Linked DNA regions of Homo sapiens: region 1 is linked to region 2. Evidence: promoter capture Hi-C in 16 types of primary human blood cells and fetal thymus (Javierre and others, 2016). All regions are on one chromosome and are shown on one strand. Each heading gives the region's core, a stretch centred on a gene start or on the middle of the fragment in contact. The rest is flanking DNA. Distances are from core to core; before and after follow the strand shown. Region 1 overlaps CNBP (CCHC-type zinc finger nucleic acid binding protein). Region 2 holds the start of GP9 (glycoprotein IX platelet).

What was found. The method cuts DNA at HindIII sites, captures the fragments that hold promoters and counts their contacts. A CHiCAGO score of 5 or more calls a contact.
Region 1: a contact is called between a fragment that was not itself captured here and the fragment with the promoter of GP9 in region 2, in 3 of 17 cell types (non-activated CD4 T cells, naive CD8 T cells and naive CD4 T cells). The highest score is 6.0, in non-activated CD4 T cells.

The regions. Positions count from the first base shown.
Region 1 is chr3:129,168,682-129,173,562 of GRCh38, forward strand. It overlaps CNBP (CCHC-type zinc finger nucleic acid binding protein), which reads right to left. Exons shown (of 5, transcript NM_003418.5): 2 at 2,953-3,090; 3 at 2,765-2,857; 4 at 2,398-2,596; 5 at 1-1,889. The coding sequence starts at 3,076. The coding sequence ends at 1,772. Among named protein-coding and RNA genes, the nearest start is that of ISY1-RAB43, 10 kb to the left of the region's middle. The HindIII fragment of the contact is 4,898 bases long and covers 1-4,125 here.
Region 2 is chr3:129,057,281-129,062,028 of GRCh38, forward strand. GP9 (glycoprotein IX platelet) reads left to right here and starts at 3,499. Exons shown (of 3, transcript NM_000174.5): 1 at 3,499-3,570; 2 at 4,214-4,339; 3 at 4,448-4,748. The coding sequence starts at 4,460. The HindIII fragment of the contact is 4,040 bases long and covers 2,814-4,748 here.

The DNA of each region.
Region 1 (4,881 bases), core at 427-2,926, 110 kb after region 2:
CCAGACACGGTGGCTCGCACCTGTAACACTAGCACTTTGGGGGGCGGGGCAGGTGGATCACCTGAGGTCAGGAGTTGGAGACCAGCCCGACCAACATGATGAAACCCAGTCTCTACTAAAAATACAAAAAATAGGCCGGGCGCGGTGGCTCACGCCTGTGATCCCAGCACTTTGGGAGGCCAAGGCGGGCGGATCACGAGGTCAGGAGATTGAGACCATCCTGGCTAACACCGTGAAACCCCGTCTTTACTAAAAATACAAAAAAAAAAAATTAGCTGGGCGCGGTGGCGGGTACCTGTAGCCCCAGCTACTCAGGAGGCTGAGGCAGGAGAATGGCACGAACCCAGGAGGCGGAGCTTGCAGTGAGCCGAGATCGCACCACTACACTCCAGCCTGGGCAACAGAGCGACACTCTGTCTCAAAAAAAAATAAAAAAATAAAATAAAAATAAAAATACAAAAAATTAGCGGGGGGTGGTGGCGGGTGCCTGTAATCCCAGCTACTCAGGAGGCTGAGGCAGGAGAATTGCTTGAACCCGGGAGGTGGAGGTTGCAGTGAGCCAAGCCTGCACTCCAGCCTGGGCGACAAGAGTGAGACTCCGTCTCCAAAACAAAACAAAACCACCACCACCAAAAAACCTGTTCAGACTGAACACAGAACTCAAGGGCATTATTATAACAGATTACAAAGTGAATTTTCTATAGCTTTGCAAAAGTATCTAAATCCCATACATCCTTTTAACAGCAATTTTCATTATTGAAGACATGACTTAAGTACAAAAAGAAAAGTCCAAACTGTCAGCTTTCAGTCCTCCACATTCCCCTCTTTAATATGGTATTTTGCACTATATACATTAATGAAAATTTGAAACAAACAAAAAGAACTTTAGTCAAACTCCCCTTCCTCCTCCAGCTTTATTGGAATAGTTTAAAATTACATTTCTATTTTCTAGGACTTCAGTTGCTCTTTCCATCTGACTTTTAAAAACTGATTACAGCAAATGAAACACAGTTGTCTAAGTGATATAGTATACAAAAATAACATCTTGATTTCTGTGAAAATGCATTTCTCTGCAATTCCTGAATAGCTCCAAATTATGCTAACTCTGAGCATTGATGTTTACTCTGGGTTTTAGATTTAGTCTTTGAAAATAATGTGTTCTAAACCTTTGCCATCACCATCTATGTGTCCAACATCAACACTGTGATGAAGTTGTTCCTGTTTAGGCTTTTATTCCGATTTCTCTCGAACAGCCATTAACACGCATGTTTATCTTTTTGTTTACTCCCACTCAACTGTATGTTCTATGTAGGGCCTGATACAGATGTTACTTGATGTTATTTAATAGCTACTGAGGTCAGACAATCCAAGACCATCATTATACTAAAATTAAAGTTATTTATGGAAGTTCATAGACACTTCCAGAATTGGTTTTACCTCCTACATGGGAACATGTTCAAGGAACCCAGGACGGGCTTACTGGTCTGACTCAACTCTTCCCATTCATCAATCCCTATTCACCAGTGGCACGGAAAGGGGGTTCTTTAACAAAGCATTATACATAACACCTCTACCAAACTAAACATAAACTTTTTTTGTAGTTAAATGCAGAAAGTCGGTTTTTTTCCACCCCTTTCCTCCTTTTACACGGCAAGTAAAGCTCACTGGCCTGGGAGTTGCCTCTATCTGCCAACCTTTGGCCAGTGAAGAGGATTCAGAGAAAATAATACAACCATCAATCAGAAAAAGGAGGGGCGACAAAGGAAAATAATTAGGCTGTAGCCTCAATTGTGCATTCCCGTGCAAGGTGCCCTGACTCGCCACAGCGGTAACAGTTGACTTCACTTGTCTTGCTGCAGTTGATGGCTACATGACCAGTTTCACCACACCTAAAAAAGAAATTAAAAGTTTTCACAATGGGCCTCAGAAAAAAACTGTCTACCAAAGCAACAGTCACCATGCAGAACAAAACGCCTGATCTTTGTTTTCATGCAATTAACCCCTAAGGTTTCACAGATATGTACACAACAACATTTATCAAATTATACACTTACATGTCACAAACAGGCAAAGATTTCTGGTTACATGATAAAAGATTTATGTATATTACAGAGCTTTCTATGAAGTCTCTGGAAGTTTCAAATTATAACACTCTTACTTTTATATATTAAAAAAGTCCAGTTGTGAAAACTGCCCAGGTACCATAAGCCACAGGATATCAGGGCAGAATACAGAATTATATACAGATAGACTGCCAGTTACATATGCTGAAAATTGGTCTTATCTGGTCACAGCTAAGTTTCACTGAATTTACTAAGGCCCTTCCATTTATAGCTAATTCATCTCTGGAAGAATCTCTGCAATGAGTTTTCTTCTAACAACATTCTGACACCTTACCTATAGCACTTCACTTTGGTGCAGTCTTTTTGAATGTGTCCGAATTCTCCACAAGAATAGCATTTCTGCTCATCTGCATGGTCGCAGTCACGAGCCAGATGGCCTGGTTTGCCACAGTTGTAGCAGCATTGCTCTCGCTCTCTCTTGGGCTCCTTGCAGTCCTTGGCAATGTGGCCACCTCTACCGCAGTTATAGCAGGCTTCAACAATAAGGAAAAGAAACAGGCCAAGACTATAAAACCTTTACAAAGTGTTACGTTTTAAATTATACAATACAAAACCTCAAAGGTGGAAATGCTATACACAGTTGCATGTGCTCACCTCTCCAAGCTCTAGAGGGGTATGAAAAGGAAGTGTTAAATACTTACCATCCTCCTGAAGATCACAATCCTTGGCAAGATGACCAGACTCACCACAGCGATAACAAATGTCTGGAAGAGACGAGGAAACAAACTGGAAACCTGTTTTGAGCAAAAACAAAGAATTCGGCTAGTCAGACCAGTCTTGATACTAACAAATACTGAAGTACTTCAAATTTTTCTATTCGACAAAATACCTCTATCCGAGGTAAAACCACCTCTGCCACGGCTTCTCATTCCACGACCACGGCCTCCACCAGTAGGACATTCCCGGGCCCAGTGGCCAGATCGTCCACACTTGAAGCACTCATTGCTGCTCATGGCTGCAGTCAGATCTTTGAAATATTAAAAGTAACAGCATTAAACCACTGAAAGTTCTTTTAACTTTTATTCTCTATTAAATGTATTTTTGGAAAATTATTCTGGGGAAAAAAGCTAGCTAATATATTGGTTAAAAAAATAGCTGGGCATGGTGGCTCACGCCAGTAATCCCATCACTTTGGGAGGCCGAGGTGGGTGGATCATGAGATCGAGACCATCTTGGCTAACATGGTGAAACCCCGTCTCTACGAAAAATACAAAAAATTAGCCCGGTGAAGTGGCAGGCGCCTGTAATCCCAGCTACTTGGGAGGCTGAGGCAGGAGAATGGTGTGAACCCAGGAGGCGGAGCTTACAGTGAGCTGAGATGGTGCCACTGTACTCCAGCCTGGGCAACATTGAGACTCTGTCTCAAAAAAATAAAATAATCACACAACTACATGATTGGGTATTATAGACTTATTATAATATACACCTTGATAAAAGTGATGGAATTTACAGGGTTAGGGTCAATGAAAATCCATTAAGAGAAATAATTGGTAGTGGCTGGGCACGGTGGCTCATGCCTGTAATCCTAGCACTTTGGGAGGCTGAAGCGGGTGGACCATCTGAGGTCAGGAGTTTGAGACCAGTCTGGCCAACATGGCGAAACCCCGTCTCTACTAAAAATACAAAAAACAGCCGGGCATGGCGGCATGCGCCTGTAATCCCAGCTACTCAGGAGGCTGAGGCAGAAGAATCGCTTGAACCCGGGGGGTGGAGGTTGCAGTGAGCCGAGATCATACCACTGCACTCCAGCCTAGGGGACAAAGTGAGACAGACAGGCAGGCAGGCAGGCAGGCAGGCAGGCAGACAGGCAGACAGGCAGCCAGGCAGGCAGGCAGGCAGGCAGGCAGGCAGGCAGACAGACAGACAGACAGACAGACAGACAGACAGACAGACACACACACACACACACACACACACACACACACACACTGGCAGTAATACTCATTCACTCATTCCAAGTCCAACTTAATGGACACATTTGCATGGTTATAAGGCCTATATAAGCTTTATTTTGGGCAAATAGAAGTCATTTATTTACTCACATCAAAAAATTGGAATAACCCAAACCAATGAAGCTGTAAAATGGATTCTCGGAGTGAGGAGTCAGTGAAGGAAAATACTCTCTTAACCTTAGCACCTGACGTAGTACCTAGTTATACTGCAGCACTTGCCTGGTGACTGAGATATTCCTTAGAACAGATATGTTAAAACAAATGCAAGATACAAATCTTATCTCTAGATGGTACAAGTACAGTAGGCCCTCTATATCCATGGGTTCTGCATCCATGGCTTCAACCAACCTTGGAATAAAAATATTCAGTGGAAAAGTTGCATCTGTATTGAACATGCAGACTTTTCTTGCCATTATTCCCTAAACAATACAATGTTAACAACTACTTATTCAGCATTTACATTGTGTTAGGTATTATAAGTAATCTAAAGATGATTTTAAAGTATATGGGAAGATGTGCAAAGGTTGTAATGCAAGTACTACACTATTTTATATTGGGAACTTGAGCATAGGAGGATTTTGGTATTTGAGGGAGTTTGTGGAACCACTTCACAGATACCAAGAGATGACTGTATAATAAAAATAGTAGGAAAACGACCATGAGTTACACCAAAGCGCTAATAATAGCACCTACAGCACTGGCAACATTTGTGTTTTGTTTTCTTTTATTCTCCCCTTTCCAAATGTTTCTGTAATGTAATTTTACATTTTAAACAATGCTACTTAGAATTTCATAATAAACTCCTT
Region 2 (4,748 bases), core at 2,249-4,748:
GATGGAGCTGTGCCTTGGCAAGGGAGGCCTTTGAGGAGGGGTCATCTGAATTGAGATGAGAATGATGATCAGGAGGAAGCCATGTGGGGCTCTGGGGGAAGGGCACTCCAGGCAGAGGGAACAGCAAGTGCAAAGGCCCTGAGGCAGGAAAGTGCTGGAGTGTTTGAGCAACAGGAAGAAAATTGGTGTGGCTGGACATTGATGAGCAAAGTAGACAGTGGGTGATGGGGTCAAGAAATAGGCAGGGGCCAAGCTACAGGGGGGCCTGTAGCTTCCTGACCACAGGGGCACGGGTTTTCTTTTATTTGCGATGGGAAGCCAAGAAGGCGAACGAAGACCAGAGCAGTAGCAGCACAGGGAGAAGTGGTTAAGTTCTGAATAGATCCTGGTGACTGAAATGACAGGAATTACTGATGGGTTGGACAGCAAGTAGAAGTGACTCTTCAGAGGAGTTTTATGGAAGAGAGAAGCAGAAAAATCAGATGGTAATTGGAGAAAGAGGTGGAATTAAGGAAGGATTTTTCAAAAGGGCAGGATTATAGGTTGCTTCTTTTTTTTTTTTTTTTTTTTGAGACGGAGTTTTGCTCTTGTTGCTCAGCCTGGAGTGCAATGGCGCGATCTCAGCTCACCACAGCCTCCGCTTCCTGGGTTCAAGTGATTCTCTTGCCTCAGCCTCCCAAGTAGCTGGGATTACAGGCATACACCACCACGCCCAGCTAATTTTGTATTTTTAGTAGAGATGGTGTTTCTCCATGTTGGTCAGGCTGGTCTCGAAACCCACTTTAGGCAGACCTAAAGTGATCTGCCTGCCTCAGCCTCCCAAAGTGCTGGGATTGCAGGCGTGAGCCACCGCGCCTGGTCTGGCTGCTCCTAACCTGATGGAATGACCCAGTGAAGGAGAAATTGATCATGCAGAGGAAGGGGCACCTGATGGGGCAATGTCCTGGAAGGATGGAGAGGGGACAACTCACAGCACAAGAGTGGGGCTTGGCCTTCGCCTTGGTTCCTATTGCTGCTGTCACAAGAGGCTTAATGCAGCACACATTTATTTTCTCATTCTTCATCACACAGCTCCTGTGGGTTCTCTTATTCCAGCCCTCCTGAGGTAGATCAGCAGGACCTGTTTTCTGAGCACCTGTCAGGACCCCCGGTCCCCAGCCTGCTGATGGCAGCAGGATCTGGTTGAAACAAGGTGTAGTGAAGAAGCTGGCAGACACCAGAAACCAGCAGATGGGAACGAAAGCAACCGCTAGTTGCCCTCACTGCTCACTAACATAGACACTCCCCCTGGCACCATGGTAGTTTACAAATGCCATGGCAGCACGCCATGGCAACAACCTGAAAGTTACAGGGTTCTGGAAACTCACCACCCCTTTTCTAGAAAGTTTGAAATAACCTGCCCCTGAATTTGCATGTAATGAATAGTGGCTGTAAGTGCAGTTGCCAAAAGCCCACACACTACTGCTCTGGGCACACTGCCTGTGGGGTAGCCCTGCTCCCAGAGAGCAGCACCTCTGCTATGCACTGCTGCTTCAATAAAGCGGCTTTCTTCACCACTGGCTCTTTGACTTCTTTCCTGGCCAAAGCCAAGAGCCCTCAGGGGCAAAGCCCTGATTTGGGGGCTCACCTGCCCTGCATCACTTGTAGGTGGAAATCAAGCTGCTGGCAGGGCTGCATTCCTCTCTGGAGGCTCTGGGAGAATCCACTTGCAGGCTCACCCAGGCTGTTTACAGATCCACTTCCTGCATTATCCTGTGCCTCTTGGGCAGATGGGTATGTATTTACCCATATGGGTAAATACACATGGGGAAAAAGCCTTGCCTGATGTTGGGATGGAGGGAAATTTTTATTTTCTTCTTCCAGTTCATCTGAACATTCTAATTTCCCACAACAAAAATCATTTATTTGTTATTTATGTAGTTTTTTAAATTCACAAAACCCATCTATGTTGATCTAGTTTTTTGTTTTAAGTTGTACATGCTGAAAATAAGGAAATCTCAGAGGCTCAAGAGGAAGGAGGGCACAGGCCCCACCAGATCTGGTCACAACACCTGGCCTGGCAGCTCCAGCACCCCCACTCACTCCAGAACCCCTTACCCACCTGCGTGGGGCTCACTGGTGAATGTGTGCAGGGCAGAGGAGGTGGAACATGCCAAGGCTCCATGGGGAGGGAGGGAAGGGCCAGACAGGCTGAGGCTCCTCTCCATGGTCCAGGCTCCGGTCAGAGTCCCCACTGAGCACATACCAGGGGACCCCCAGCAGCAACCAGGCCCCCGAGCAGGTGTGACATCAGTGGGGGAACAGCACCTTCCCCACCCTTCTCTGAGCCCAGCATCAGTGGGTGGAGGAAGCAGAGCTGGGGCCTGGCAGCCTCTCAGGGCCTCCTAGGAGGGTGAACACCCAAATCCTGCCCTACCCAAATCCAGAACCAGGAGGCGGGGAGAGAACAGGCGGCCTCCCAAGGAAGGACTCACCCTGCTTGGCCATGCAGGAGGAGGAAGGCTGGCCTGAGAAGGATGTGAGACCAAAATAAGAACAAGCACACCCCCACCCCCGTAGGGCCGAGGAATATTCCCGAGGGTCCTGAATGTCAACGAAGTGCGTTTAAAGCCTCCGTCAGCCTTCTGTCTTTGGCTTTTCCTGCCAGGCTTCTGTAACTTCTGTGTTTTTACCCTGTTTTATTTATTTTTTAAGACGGAGTCTCGCTCTGTCACCCAGGCTGGAGTGCAATGGCACGGTCTCGGCTCACTGCCACCTCTGCCTCCTGGGTTCAAGCAATTCTCCATCCCAAAATATATTTATCTTTTAAAGGAAGCTTTATGTCACTAACATAAATGGAAAATGGTGTCCCTCCCCTAAGTAGAATGTGCTCTAGAAGAAAATGTACTGCAAATGTTAAAACCATAGGCCAAAATTCTAGCTAGAGATTCACACTTGGTAGAGGCTCTGCTTCCCAGGCCTACAGCTGTTTGTTAGAAAGAGGCATGGAGAAGCACTAGGCAGGAGCTAAAAACACCATGGCACCAAGAAGAGACTCCGTCCTTGAGTATACAGGAGGAGGGAGGAGAGTTAAAAATGAAGTCACTCTCCCCACCATGGTGTTCTCAGCCAGTGGGAGCTGCCCAGCCCACACCTCTGTGAGGCAGGCAGGACCGGTCACTGCTCCCACTTTACAGATGAGGAAAACTGAGATTCGGAGGAACAACCAGCAGAGCCACGTTTCTCAGGGGTCTCCTAGTTCCCACCTTCTGGGAGCAGGTGAGGGGCCACCCTCAGTCCTCCACAGACCTGATTCCAAAGCCCATCAAGGCACTGGCGGCACAGTGGGACCCCCTTCTATAAACCGGGGTTGAGATGTGGTTCTGTGCCCAAGGCGCGGGCCCCTGAGGGCCTCCTGCCTCTGGAAATAGGCCCCAAGGCTGCACTGGGGGGATAAGCCAGGCTATTTTCATCACTTCCTTCCGCCCGCTCCCGCAGCGGCCACCTCAGCTGTATCCCATAGAGTTGCCACCCAGGCCTCAGCCAGGACCTTTCAGGCCAGACAGGAGCACCTGACCAAAGGCTTCACAGGTAAGTGGCCCTCCGTATTACCCAGCATGGCCTCCCACAGGGAGAGAGGAGGTCAGTTCCTGTCCCTTTAACAAGACAGGGTTGGGTGGGACATTCCCTCTGAGACACCATCTCCTTGGCTGAGTCAAGATGAGTGAGTTGATTTGACACTTATTCACTGGAAACCTGCTGTGGGTAGGGGGAGCTCTGCTGGTGGAGGGGAAACGCCTGTGGGGAAGAACCAAACAGAGGGCCACGGTTGCCGAGACCCGAGTGTGAGTCTGGCCTCTGACACCACACCGGTGGCCCTGGGCACATTGCTTTCCCTCTCTGGGCCTCAGTTTCCCCAAGTCAGTGTTAGCCCAGATGAGTGGTTTTCCAGATGGGGTCCCACTGAGTTCCCCTCCCTGCTCCAGCCAGTGTCCCTGTCCTGCTGTCTTCTGCATCTGGGAATCAGGTAACAGCTCACTTAGCTGGTGGGGGGTGCTGGGCGCAGCCTGCAGGGCCCTCCAAGGCTCTTTCCTAGTCTCTGGGGACTGTGGTCCTGGGCTGGGACTCATTTAGCAGCCATCTGCTCCTCTCATCCCCAAGCAGGGGATGGGGTCTCTGCTAAGGGCCAGGAAGTCCCTTCCCCTTCCCAAAAACAAACTTACCCAATCCACAGCCGCCCTCACCGCCCGGCCTTCTACGGTGTCCAGAGACAGTTAGCCAGGCCTGGGCTGGGCACACTCCACCTTCCCTAGTCACCAGCTGGTTTCCCAGAGGAGAAGGCTGAGACCCGAGAAGGGAGGTGAGTGCACCCCGTCCCATGTCAGGCTCCGCTACATCCCCAGTGCTTGCCGTCCCTGAGGATCGGTCCAGGCTGCCAGGCCCTCCCTCACAGCCCCTCTCTCTGCAGCCAGCCTGTCCCATGCCTGCCTGGGGAGCCCTGTTCCTGCTCTGGGCCACAGCAGAGGCCACCAAGGACTGCCCCAGCCCATGTACCTGCCGCGCCCTGGAAACCATGGGGCTGTGGGTGGACTGCAGGGGCCACGGACTCACGGCCCTGCCTGCCCTGCCGGCCCGCACCCGCCACCTTCTGCTGGCCAACAACAGCCTTCAGTCCGTGCCCCCGGGAGCCTTTGACCACCTGCCCCAGCTGCAGACCCTCGATGTGACGCAGAACCCCTGGCACTGTGACTGCAGCCTCACCTATCTGC